2 separate regions of the Homo sapiens genome follow, and region 1 is linked to region 2. Evidence: promoter capture Hi-C in human tissues and cell types (Jung and others, 2019). All regions are on one chromosome and are shown on one strand. The core of a region is centred on a gene start or on the middle of the fragment in contact, and the rest is flanking DNA. Distances in the headings are between cores, read along the strand shown.

Region 1 (6,787 bases), core at 4,177-6,676, 61 kb before region 2:
CGAGGCCCCCGCTGTGCACCCAGCATCCTCAGAACTGCCCCGAGACCCCGTCTCTGCCTCCATTGCAGACAGGGCACCCAGGCCTGGCCCAGGCTGACTTGGTGGCTCAGTGGCTGGGGCTCGGGGCCTCAGTGAACCTTTGCGGATGGAGAGCACGCCGGAGTTCCTGTCCCTGCCCCTGCCCCGCCCCTCACCCCTCAGGCCTGCATTCTGGCAGGAGCTAGAGGCTGACGGGCCTGGCTCTCTTGAGTGCCCCACACAGAGTGCCTGACTGTCCCTAAGAAGGATGTCAAGGGAGGTGCGCCAGGTACTGAGGCTGTGCAGAGCTGCCCTGGGGACAGCCAGAGAGGAACTCCCTCGGGGGAGAGCCATGCCCTGGCCCCACTCCAGGGTACCCCTCCCTGAGAGCAGGGTAGGACAAAGCCAGGCTGGGGCAGGAGAAGGGGGAGGCACCCGGAGGGCATGAAAGGGGTGCTCTGCAGCCCAGGTGGCTGGCTGGGCTGGGAGACAGCGGTGGCTTCCATAATGACAGGAGTGGAGAATCATCGTTCTACCCAGGGCCACATCCCTGGCCACCAGGTGTGAAGAAACAGCAGGTGGAGGACCGGCCTCATGGGGAGACTGTCCTGGAAGGACCCACAGCTTTGGCAGTGGCCTGCTCCCAGGCTGCAGCCGACAGTAACCAAGGAGTTTCAGTTCTGCCCCAGAGCCTGGACCTAGGTGGGTCGGCTTCCAGCCCCAGGCCTTACACCAGGGGCCCTGCCTGGAGCCCAGGACAAGTAGGGAGGGGGATTCCCACTTACTTAGCCCTCTGGAGGAAGCGGCGTCTTCTTGGGGCTGAAGCCAACAGCATCCTCTGTGGCTACACTGGGGGCTCTGGAGGTCTAAGGGAGGGCAGGGGTGGCCAGACCAGCTGCTTCCCCATCCTCCCTCAGGGGCTCAGGATTGGAGGCTGCAGAGGGTGGGGCCAGCGTGGCTGCAGCGCACAGGAGGAGGCTGCAGCCGCGTGGGTGCCAGGGGACTTGGTCTGAGCCTGCAACAGGAAGTGGCTGAAGCACCCTTTGCCTGGGCTTTGGTGCGGGTGGGGAGCGAGCGATCTAGGCTTGGACCCCAGGCAGGGAGCCTGTGGCCCGTCCCTGGCCCTCAGTCCTGAACACACGCTGTAGGCTCCTCAGCCTCGGCCCTGGCAACGGCACTGAAGGCCTCAGGCTTCTCTGGGGACAGGGACAAGCTCAAAAGCAGCTGCCTCTTCCACTGCTGCCCCCAAGGGAACAGAGGTCGACTTCCTATGGACAGTTTGTCTTCGCCAAAAAGGTCCCCTGAAGAAAGGGAGGTTGCATCCCGCCGCTGCTCCAACCCCACAGGCCAGCAGCATGCTCAGCCCTCCTTGCCCAGGGCCAGCCCACCCAGCTGCCAAGGAGATGCTACCAGGGATGCGGCAGCCCTGGGGGTTGTGCACAGGAGGCTTCCTGGAGGGGACCTCGCAGAGGCAGTATGTGAGCCAAAGGGAAGCCTGGACCAGTCCAAGCCTGGTCATAACCTTCCGGGAGGCAGGGCCTGCAAGGGGCTGGGAGGTCAGAACACAGAAAGGGGCAGGCCCCGGAGTGACAACCCTCAGGGCTAATACCAGAGGTCCCATGGGCCTGCAGCAATTGTCCCACTCTACAAAGAGGGGCAGCATCTGGTCCCGGCTGAGCCCTCCAGCAGCCTGCAGGCCCCCATCACAGCACTTATGACCCTGTCTGTCCTATCAGCGTGGGACTTCCTCAAGAGCAGGGGCCAGGGGACAGGAGCAGCTCTCAGATGCTCAGGTTATGACATTCAAAGATGCACAGCTGCCTGTGCGCAGTGGCTCATGCCTGTAACCCCAGCACTTTGGGAGGCTGAGGTAGACAGATCGCTTGAGGTCAGGAGTTTGAGGCCAGCCTGGCTAACATGGTGAAACCCCGTCTCTATTAAAAACACAAAAATTAGCCAGGTGTGGTGGTGGGCGCCTGTAGTCCCAGCTACCAGGAAGCTGAGGCAGGAGAATCGCTTGAACCCGGGAGGCGGAGGTTGCAGTGAGCTGAGATCACGCCACTGCACTCCAGCCTGGGCAACAAAAGCGAGACTCTGTCTCAAAAAAAAAAAAAAAAAAAAAAAAAAAAAGCTGTACAGCCAACGGCACCTTCCACGGGGCCCACAAGGCTCTATGCACCCCTGGCCACTGACTGCACTCCCGCACGCTGGCTTTGTGGTCCTCAGTTGTGCCAAGCACATTCCCACCCCAAGGCCTTTGCACATGCACCGGCCCTACCCCCGACATCCTCTAAACACTGCTCCCTTCAATTCTGTCCCTTAAACATCACTTCCTGAGAGTGCTGTCCCCCAATACCTGACACTACATTTGTTCACTGAGTGTCTTGCCCACTAGAAGGCAGGGACCCTGTTGGTCTGGGAGGTGTGGGACTAAGCTGTGGTTACACTGTAGGCTCTGAAGCCAGGCTGCCTCGGTTCGAGTCCTGATTCTACTCCTCACGCGCTGTGAGACTTTTGGCAAGTGACTGAACTCTGCACCTCATTTGTAAAATCGCTTTTTAAAAATTTGAGACAGTGTCTCGCTCTGTTGCCCAGGCCAGAGTGCAGTGGCGTGATCACAGCTCACTGCAGCTTCGACATCCTGGGTTCAAATGATCCTCCCATCTCAGCCTCCTGAGTAGCTGGGACTACAGGTACGCACCACCACGCCTGGCTAATTTTTTTGTAGAGATGGAGTCTCACTATGTTGCCTAGGTTGATCTCAAACTCCTGGCCTCAAGCAGTCCTCCTGCCTCAGCCTCCCAAAGTGCTGGGATTACAGGCGTGAGTTACCAGCCTTGGCCTTAAAATCGCTTTAATATTGCCGGGCACGGTGGCTCACGCCTGTAATCCCAGCACTTTGGGAGGCTGAGGTGGGCGGATCACGAGGTCAGGAGATCGAGACCATCCTGGCTCACACAGCGAAACCTCGTCTGTACTAAAAATACAAACAAACAAAAAAAAATTAGCCGGGTGTGGTGGTGGGCGCCTGTAGTCCCAGCTACTTGGGAGGCTGAGGCAGGAGAATGGTGTGAACCCGGGAGGCAGAGCTTGCAGTAAGCCGAGATTGCGCCACCGCACTCCAGCCTGGGCGACAGAGCGAGACTCAAAAAAAAAATCGCTTTAATAAATAAATAGCACCCCCTTACTGGGTTGTTGTGAGAGGGGCCTAATGCAGAGTGGGCACGCCATAATTATTTGCAAGTGACTGACTCAGGGACCCTAGGAAGTTCCACTGGGAGGGGCATGCAGAGGGGCCAGGAAAGTGGAAATCACTGGCCACCTCCCCAGTGGGGCTGGAGGCTGCAGACCCCTCATGGCCTTATCACATTGCCCCTGCCCGAACACCTTCAGAGGGGTGAGGGGCCCTGGAACAAAGGTCTCAGTGCATGAAATGAGGTCTGGGCCGGGCCCAATGCCTCAAGCCCAGGGCCCGAGGGAGACTAAGCAGAGTCTAGCACCTTGGGCATCCCACTGAGAGCCAGCCTGGCTGTGGTCAGCCATGCACCCAGGTGAGCAGTGACCCCCTCTGAGCTGCTCTGCTCACTGTCACGCGGTGAGGACCACCAGCTTTGGGGACTGTTGGGAGTATCACACCCACAAGCCACGAGGTAGAAGCCATGGCTCTTACTTCTAGTGGATCTTTCCCCATATTGAGACTTTTTTTTTTCGAGATGGAGTCTTGCTCTGTCACCCAGGCTAGAGTGCAGTGGCGCGATCTTGACTCACTGCAATCACTGCCTCTCGGGTTCAAGCGATTCTTCTGCCTCAGCCTCCTGAGTAGCTGGGATTACAGGCGCCCACCAACAGGCCCGGCTAATTTTTGTATTTTTAGTAGAGATGGGGTTTCACCATGTTGGCCAGACTGGTCTCAAACTCCCGACCTCAGGTGATCTGCCTGCCTTGGCCTCCCAAAGTGCTGGGATTACAGGCGTGAGCCACTGCACCTGGCTTCCTTCTTGAGTTTCACTACACCAGGGACAGCACAAACATGCCTCCTCTTTACTGCCCTGACCTGGGGACTCACCCCTCTCCTGGTGAGTGATTTGGGACAGGCCACTCCAAAGCCAGGTACACCCATCCTGTAACACGGCTTCCCTCCTGTGGCTTCTGTGGCTCTACTCCTGACCCTCTCTCCATCACCCAAGGCTCCATCTCCCCCCTCACCGCAGACACAGGGGTCCCCAAAGTTCTTCCCTTCATTCGTCTTGGCCCTATCACAAATCCCACTCACCATCTCAGGGCCAGCTCCGAGGCGGCCGTTTTTTCTGACTTTCCTACCTCCAACTGGACTCAGGCTCCCATGGCTAGCTCTGGGCAGGACACAGCCACCATGGATAGCCCATGTCCCCTCCAGCTCAACACAGATGAGCATGTCTCCTCCCCAACATGACCCCCAATTCCATCAGAGTCAACAAACCACCAACTCCCCAGTGCCCAGGTTAGAAAACCAGATGGCTTCAGGTTCCACCCTGCCATTCGCCAGTGCCCATGCCCTCCCCGAAGCCCCTGTCTTTTTCTTTCTTCCTTTCTTTCTTTTTTTTGAGATGGGATTTCACTCTGTCACCCAGGCTGGCTTGCAGTGGTGTGATCATAGCTCACTGCAACCTCCACCTCCCAGGCTCAAGCAACCCTCCCATGTCAGCGCCCTTGAGTAGCTGGGACTACAGGCACCACCACCATGCTCAGCTAATTTTTTTGTAGAGACAAGGTTTCACTATGTTGCCCACACTGGTCTCAAACTCCTGGGCTCAAGAGATCCACCTGCCTCCGCCTCCCAAAGGGCTGGGATTATAGGCATGTGCCACCGCCAGCCCCTGCCTTTCCTACTCTGTGGCGATGTGGAGTGAGAAGGTTTTAGTCCCAGCTCTAGATGTTACAACCTTCAGCGAGGCACTTGATTGCATGGAATCTCTGTTTCTCCCATGCAAACTGGGCACATACAGTCCCTCATAGAGTTATGATGAAGATTTAACAAATTAGCATGAAGAGTGCTCAATGCATGGTAGCCAATATGACAAATACTCACCAAAAACTGTCCCTTCTGCCTGAAATTCTCTCCATCCTCAGTCACTGTCCCAGGTCAGGTCCTATGAGCTCAGACCCTTGAGTTACTGGGACAGTCCCTTCCCTGCCTAGATACCACCACCGGCCCACTGGGATGGCATTCTTCAACAGCATGTCACCCCAGCCCCTCCCTGGCTTTCTGCCGACTCCCTTCTATTTTTTTTTTTTTTTTTTTTTGAGATGGAGTCTCGCTCTGTCTCCCAGGCTGGAGTGCAGTGACGTGATCTCAGCTCACTGCAGCCTCCGCCTCCCAGGTTCAAGTGATTCTCCTTCCTTAGCCTCCCGAGTAGCTTGGATTACAGTCATGTGCCACCATGCCTGGCTAATTTTTGAATATTTAGTAGAGACGGGGGTTTCACCACGTTGGCCAGGCTGGTCTCAAGCTCCTGGGGTCAAGTGATCTGCCTGCCTCGGCCTCCCAAAGTGCTGGGATTACGGGGATGAGCCACCACCCCCATCCTGACTTCTGAAACTCCTTATCTTGGCATTCAAGGCCCTTCACGAATCGGTCTCAACTTTGTTTCTTGTTGGATCCCTCAGCTTATTCTGTTCCTTCCAAGGGAACTGTTCCTGTTCCCTCAGCAGTCCGCACCATCCCACCGCTGTGCAGATGGTTTCCTCTGCCTGTTGAGAGCCCTCTTGCCCCCCGAAGGCCTCTTTCTGAGCACCTGATGCAGAATCCCAGGGCATGCTGTCTGTCTCCTTTCAGCCACACTGAGTGTGTTCATTTCACTCACTGGCTGTGTGACTTTCATCAAGAGAATTAACCTCTCTGTGTCCCAATTTTCTCTCTGGCAAAACAAAGACAGCACTAATATCTAACTATGCAAAGTACTTAGAACAGGGGTTGTCCCTTACTGAATGTTAGAAAACGTTAGACGTTATTCCTAAAAAAGAAAAAACAGGCTGGGCATGGTGGCTTATGCTTGTAATCCCAGCACTTTGGGAGGCTGAGTCAGAAGGATCGCTTGAACCAGTTGGAGCTGGAGGCTACAGTGGGCTATGATCTCACCACTGCACGCCAGCCTGGGTGACACAGCAAGACCCTGTGTAAAAAAAAAGAAAAGAAGAAACAAAAAAACAAACCGAGGCCAGGTGCAGTGGCTCATGCCTGTAATTCCAGCATTTTGGGAGGCTGAGGCGGGCAGATCACTTGAGGTCAGGAGTTCGAGACCAGCCTGGCCAACATGGCAAAACCCTATCTCTACTGAAAATACAAAACTTAGCCGGGCGTGGTGGTGCACACCTGTAATCCCAGCTACTTGGGAGGCTGAAGCAGGAGAATCGCTTGAACCTGGGAGGCGGAGGTTGCAGTGAGGAGGGATCGCGCCACTGCTCCCCAGCCTGGGCGACACAACAAGACTGTCTCAAAAAAACCAAAAACCAAAAAATAAACCAAGGCAGAAGCCTAAAATAAAGTCCTAGTGGTGGATGTCTTGACCCCTGCTGGGCATCCCAGAAGCTTCACCTTCTACCCTTTTATGGAGTTTTCTCCCCTGAACCTTGCTGTTTGGTGACTATGCCTGTAATTCTCTCCCACACCATTTGTTTTTCTTTCTTTCTTTTTTAAAAATTGAGACTGGGTCTCGCTCTATTGCCCAGGCTAGAGTGCAGTGGTGCGATCATAGCTCACTGCAGCCTCCACCTCCCAGGCTCAAGTAAC
Region 2 (6,827 bases), core at 4,100-6,599:
GTGGTGGCCCCAGGGGGGCTGGGCCTGCTGAGAAGGAGCACTTGGGCCCTGTCATCCGCTGCCAAGCACACACATGGCCCGCCTCGGGCCTCTGATGCCTTCCCTGGCTCCGGCCTCCAGCTCTCAACAGTCTCTTATGCGTCTTTCTCTGCCTCGGCCTCTCTCCTTCCTCCTCTTTCTCCCCCTCTCCCTCATTCTTCACGTGCCTCTCTCCCTTCCTCTCTACTCTCTGGCTCCAGAGCAGACTGCAGGGAACAGTGTGGTGGAGGTGGGGGGAAGAGCAAAGTGCTCAGAACAGACCCCTCTGGCTTCTAATTCTGCCTTCGCTGCTTCTTACCATCTGTGCGACCTTGGGAAAGTCACTCAACCTCTCTGAACATCGGTTTCCTTTTTTGTGACATGGGGCAGATAATCACTTGGTTGTTGCAAGGTTGCAAGGTTGCTGCAAGGTTGCAAGGTTGCTGCAAGTTGTAAAAGGGTTCAAGTAATAGGCTATGTCCTCTTCTGGACCTGGCAGACAGTAATTGCTCAAAAATAAAAAGACAGTGGCACTTACGTTTCATTTTTTCCCATTTCACTGCACAGTCCGTGGCCCAGGGCCAGGTATGCAGTAGTTACTCAATACATGATGGGTGAATTAAGTAGAGGGGTGGCAGGGTGGTTGTCTGTGAATCCAGCTCTAACCTGTTTCATCCCCATCTGCCCTGGGAGTCCCCCTGCCTTGGGCTTGTTGAGCCCCTGGGCCTGGCTGAACCCTGACTTCCTTTCTCCTGGGGTTCTGCCCTCCTGCACCCCAGGCACTTTCTGGGGGGAAGACTTAGCTTCCCCTCCCCCAGATCTCCTCTGTCCCCACTCTCCACCCCCACCGTTCAGACCCTGATGATGGTGGCATTTGCCAAACTTCATGCCTGAACCTGACGGCCTGGGGAGCCCGAGGTTTTAATCCCCACTTTGCAATGAGGAAATGGAGAAGGTTTAGGGGCTACGAAGGATTCCTGCCTCTCTGCAAGTGAGAGAGGTGAGAATAAAATGACAGCAGCTGGAAATTGGAAAGGACTTTGAAAAGGTAACAGCTGCTTCCCCAGGCCCCGTGGCGATCCTCACTTCTCCCTCCACTCCTTGGCACAAGCCGTTTCTCCTGCCAGGAATGTCCTTGCCTCTGTCCAAGTCCTACCCCCGCACCAGGGCTGAGCTCAGACTCTCCCGCCTGCCTTTCCCGAGCCCACGGCTCTCCCTGACTGTGCTGCTCAGCTGGCCCTAAGCAGTTGGCCTGGAGAACACTTGTCTTGTTTTATGTGGTTTTGGCATGTTTCACCGACTAGCCCAGGGTGGAACTTGTCTCTTGCATCTTAGAATCACGATCCTAGACTCTCAGGGATCATAATAGTCTTCTGGCCTGGGCTGGACCTCCTTCCACAAACATCCTTCGTGTTCTGCTTGCATACCTCCCATGATGGGAAAATCACCACCTCCAAATGCTGTCAGCACTAACTGCAGACAGGGCTTCCTCCAATCGAGAATCTGCTCTTCTGTCTCTTCAGTTCTGCCTGCCAGGGCCTGTAGTCTGGGGACTTACCCCTCATCCACAGACAGGTCCTCCAACATTTTCCTTCCTTCCTTCCTTCCTTCCTTCCTTCCTTCCTTCCTTCCTTCCTTCCTTCTTTCCTTCCTTCCTTTCTTTCTTTCTGTCTCTCTCTCTCTCCTTTCTCTCTCTCTCTCTCTCTTTCTTTCTTTTTCTTTCTTTTTAAATATTCATTTATTTTTTAAATAGAGACGGGGGCCTTCCTATGTTGCCCAGGCTGGTCTCAAACTCCTGGGCTCAAGCAATCTGCCCATGTGGGCCTCCCAAAGTGCTAGGATTACAGGCATGAGTCACTGCACCTGGCCCCATTTACTTTTCTCTTTAGGTTTAACTCAAATGTCACTTCTGCTGGGAAGCCTTCCTGGATTTCTCAAGGCTCCTTCTGGCCACCCCCAACCGAGTCCTGTCTGCTTCTTTCATCATTGCACATCTATTTACACATTAGCTGCCCCTCCACTAGACAAAACATGGTGTAAGTAGTGAGAGGGAGTATTAAACCTTAGCAATGTGCACTAATTACAAGGATCCATGAGCCCAAATTAGCAGACTCTGAATAAGAGAATAGATTATTTTAAAAATGCCCATTCCCACGGTCCTTTTATTTGATGCTTTTTTTCCCCCCAGATATTACATTGCTAGAAGCTCTCACTGGCCCTAGGAGGTACTTCAGGCAGGGCTGTTTCTCCCCATTTTGCAGCCAGGGAAATGGAGAACCAGTGAGCTGAAGAGCCTGGTCTGGGACCCCCAGCTGACCCCAAGTCACATGTAGGGCCATTTGCCTGGGCCCTGGGCTCCAGGTTCAAAGAGCTGGAAGCAGCCTGTTTGGGAGCGAGCCTGGGGCCAGCCGATCTTGGCAGGGGGCTTTGCCAAACCAAAGTCCAGGGGGCTGGCTTGGGGAGCAGATAAGACCACACGAAGCTGTTTGTTGTTTGCATGCAGAAGGCTGCCAAGGGTTTTCAAAAACAAGCTGTCCTCCACTGGGTGACTGTGTCCCCTCCCACACAGGGCACATTTGCCCTCATGCCGGGGCCTCGGCAGACACACAGAGCGGGATCGACCTCTAAACCAGTGCTTCTTGGCCCTGGCGACCCCACCGTCACCTGGGAAGCCTGAAAAGTCTGTGTCCAGGTCCCTCTCCAACCAAAGCAAGCAGGGATTCTTGGGTGGGAAGTCTAATAGATAGCCAGGTTGAAAACCCCTGTTCCTACTTAAGGACGGAAAACAATAATTAAAAAAATATTTAAAAAGAGGCAGTGGCTCATGCCTGTAATCCAAGCACTTTGGGAGGCGGAGGTGGGAGGATCACTTGAGCCCAGGAATTCAGACCAGCCTGGACAACACAGCGAGACCCTGTCTCAATTTAAAAAAAATAAAAAAGGTAAAAAAATAAAAATAAAAAAGGAAAATAAAAGAAAAGGAAACCTCTGTTCCAAACCATCTTCAGTTCTGAAATCAGGAAAAAAAAAAAAAAAAATCCCTGATACTATTTCTGGGGGATGGGGAAGAATTATCCCTGGGTTAATTTCTCATGCTCACTTTTGAAACAGCCTGGGAGCTGTGCGGCTTGTCCCCTCCTCCTGCTCCCCCACCCCCGCAACAGGGTTCCTTCCTTGGAGCCGCTGAACTTGCATAAGTGACACCCTCCTCCTTGAGGGAGAAGCCAGGCTCCCCCAGGACAGCCAGGTGAGTGGCAGTGAGCATGTGACTGAGCGCTCCACTCCCTGTGTTGGCTCCCCGACCTCTGCAGACTTCAGTAGCACTTCTGTGCAAAACCCCACACGAGCTCATCAGTTCACACACCCCTTATTTGGACCTAGCAAGTCCAGCCACCTGGGACAGAGCTGAGATTGATCTCTGCAAAGTGTGAGGCCAGCTGGGCGTTTAGCGGTGTCACTGAGGACACAAGGAGAGAGCTGATTCTGCCTAGGGCATGCCTGCTTTAAGGACTCAGCCCCAAGCCTTCCCCTCCCCAAATGTTGCCTGCTAGCTCACTCCTAACCCCCTTGCCCCTTGACCTGGGGCAGAGAGCTGGCTGATACTAACCCCCGGGGACTGCCTTAGCCTGCCGGAGCCTCAGCTTCCTTGTTTGTCAAGTGATGATAATAATTTCTAATTCTCAAGGTTCCTTGATGATGAACTGCCACCCTATAGGTGGTGGCCCCATCTGGGAAGAAGGGTGGCTGGGTGTTTGGGGGCTACACCTGGGGAGGAGGCTGAGACGGACCCGGGGCTGCTGCTTTCAGGCCCTGGCTCGTTGCCCCTGCTGGGGCCCGCCTGTGGGTACCCATGTCCCTTGGCCTCATCCAGGTCCAGCAGCGGACCCTGCACAGGAAGCTGTTCAATCTCACGGAAACAGCTGCAGCTCCTGCCCAGGCCCTTGACTCCACCCCGTGGCCCTCCCGCCCCCCACTCAGCGTTTGGTTCTCATGGCAAGGAGGACTCCCGAGGAAACCAGACTCCACCCAGACCCCCCTACCAAATGCCCTCCTTTTTCCCATGCCCGGGAGCCTCTTCTGTCCTCCCCCGTTGGCCGCGGCATAGCAGCCCCACAGGGCACACCCTCAAACCCCATAACCAACTGTGCCTGGGTTGGGGCACATAGCAGATGGCCCAGCAGTGCCCCAGGATCCACTCCAGCCTCTGTCTCAGCCACACTGCCTCTGCCAGGAGACAGACACCTTCTCCAGCCCGCCTTTCCATGCTTGCGTGCCACATCGCACACACATTCACACACACAGATGTACACACTCCATAACACACACAGTGACAGTCCACACCAGTGTCACACCTGGATGCCAGATCGCCCATGTCTACATGTGTACATGTCTACATGTCTGTCAGGTGGCAGACTTTTGCACACACTAAGGAGCAGCTTCATATACCTCCTCCAAACATACGCATACACCTGCCTAAGGATGAACCTGTGAGCAGACATATGTACCCCTCCAGAAATCCCTTTCCCTGTTCAGTGACACAGCCGGGCATCTGAACACATGCACACCTGTGCATGCACACATACACACACGAGCACACAGCACGCTCATTCCTGTGTGCATGCACACACACACACACACACAAATGCATACCAGGAGTCCCTGCCTGCCTCAGCAGGGAGAACACAGCAGCAGCTTCCCAACCTGCAAACCCATCCTCAGCGGAGCCCTGACCTTCCTGACGGGGGGATCCCGGCTTCCCAGGGGTCAAGGAACCTGCTGAGGTCACACAGCTCACTGCGGTTGAGCTGGTATCAAGCCCAGGTTCCCTGTCCCCAGGGCTGGTGTGCACCCCAGCTGTGTCCACAGGTGTGCAGACTGTGGTGTCTCCAGACCCAGGGGTTCCCGCTGGGCCCTCCCCCAGGATGCTCTGATCCCCCTACAGGGCGGGCACCCGGGCACCTGAGCAGGGGCCCCCTCAGCCCTCGCAGGGCAGCAAAGCCTGGATGCTGGGCTGGGACTATTCTGAGTCGAGGGTGTCTCTTTGACAGGTTCCTCCTGGGCACGGGGCTGGCTCCTGGGAGGGGCAGTTCCGAGGACCCAGTGGCTGAGGGGCTCCCACCTGGGACCCCTTGCAGTTCCCAGGGACGAAGGTCTCCCCCTTGAGCGTCTAGTCACCTGGCCCAAAGGGCCCGCAGCTGTGGGCAGCGCTGGGGACAGGGGCGAGGGGTCCTTACCTCCAGGCCGAGAGGGGTGGAGGATGGACAGCAGGAGCAGGAGGACTCCGGGCCGCGGGGCCGCCGCCGTCAGACCCGCCATCTCGGGGAGAAATGCCCCAGCCCGCTCTCCGCACCTCGTTTTATCCCCAAAGCCTAATTGTTGCCTCGTCGGCTGTGAGGGAAAGAGGGAGGGAGAGAGGGCGGGCGGGAGGGCGGGAGAGGGGGGAGGCCTGGGGGAGGGGGCCGCGGGGAGGGGACAATTACGAAAGGCCCGGCTCACAAGCCTCCCAGGCCCGGGCTGCTGGACTGCGAGCTTTTTTCCTTGACACACACACGCACACACATGCACACAAGCACACACTCACACACACACACTTTCCCCCATCTCTTTCCCGCTTTCCCTCTGCGACTGTTCTTTCGCTGCTGGCCCTGTTCCCGCCAGAAAGAGCGAGGGGGGCCTCTGCCAGGACAGCCCTCGGGAGAGGAAGCAGAAGGGAGGGCCTGGCGGCCAGGCCAAAAATCCCAGCCCCAGCCAAGGCCCGAGTGGCCAGGCCCCCGCCCCTCCGGCTGGGCCCCGGGCCCAGTGTGAGGATACGGGCCAGCTGTCCCGCGCCTCAGCCCCCACCCCGGCCCTCCAGACTCCCCAACACCCCCAGGTCTGGCTAGAGACAGGTTCTGCCCAAAGCTGGGGAGGGGAGGCATTGGGCAGGTCTGGGGGTTTGGGGGGTGCGATGTCTACAGAGGCCGGGGGGCTGCAGGTTGAATGGCCTGGAAGGTAGGCCCGGGTTGGTATTGCTCTGGGAGGGATCTGGGGGGAAGGTAGGGGACCCTGGACAGGGCTGCATTCTGCAGGGGCCAAGGTCTCTGCCTAGCGCCTGAAGCTGGGGAGGAGGTGTTGGGTGGGTCTGGGGTGGATGCCTGCAGATGCCAGGGGGTTAGAGGCAGGGGAATGGCTTGGGAGTTAAGGCCATGTTGGTGCTGTCCCCAGGGGCATCTGGAGCACATGGAGGATCCCGACACACAGGGTTCTATTCTGCATGGGTCAAGGTCACAGCCCTATACCCAGCCCCATGCAGGCCGCAGGGTCTGGTAAAAATCAGGCTGGATCCCCAGGTGCCCTGTGGGGGAACAGGGAGGTGGGAGCCCCCCGCAGACTGACAGGCAGCCCAGCTTCCCATTATCACTGGGTCACCTCCCATCCCCACGCTGAGCACAGCTAGCGCCCACACCAGTCTGGGAGCTTCTCGACTGCTGTTCTCCCGGCCCCTCTGGGAAGGCTGACATTCCGCTGGTGGCCAGGAGGGGGCGGCCTGCACTGAAACAGCTGGGACCACGTTCCTGGAGAACTCTGCATTTCTGCCCCCAGGACTGAGCTGGACGGGGACCCTGGGGGATTTTGGGGGTTGGAGTGTGGGATGGAACAGGGGAGGGTCGTGTCCCCCACCCCTCACTTCCCACTACTGCTAGAGGAGAAGAAATGTGAGACCTAGAGAATAGGAGAGGGAAACTTGTTCCTTGTCCTAGGTCACAGCCAGTCAGGGAACAGCATGGAAGCCACACGCCCTGTGGGCTTTTCCCTGCACCACGATGGCT

The links. Contacts are between HindIII fragments. The study calls those that stand out against the background at their distance.
Region 1: a contact is called between a fragment that was not itself captured here and the fragment with the promoter of ELN in region 2, in 1 of the 25 tissues and cell types used here (IMR-90 fibroblasts).

The regions. Positions count from the first base shown.
Region 1 is chr7:74,087,316-74,094,102 of GRCh38, reverse strand. All of the region lies in intron 2 of LIMK1 (LIM domain kinase 1), which reads right to left. Among named protein-coding and RNA genes, the nearest start is that of LIMK1, 6.9 kb to the right of the region's middle. RefSeq lists enhancers at 1-77, 738-847, 771-1,312, 2,968-3,468, 3,469-3,969. The HindIII fragment of the contact is 4,301 bases long and covers 3,276-6,787 here.
Region 2 is chr7:74,026,695-74,033,521 of GRCh38, reverse strand. ELN (elastin) reads right to left here and starts at 5,349. Exons shown (of 33, transcript NM_000501.4): 1 at 5,253-5,349. The coding sequence starts at 5,334. RefSeq lists enhancers at 1-357, 4,022-4,993, 5,966-6,827. The HindIII fragment of the contact is 22,090 bases long and covers 1-6,827 here.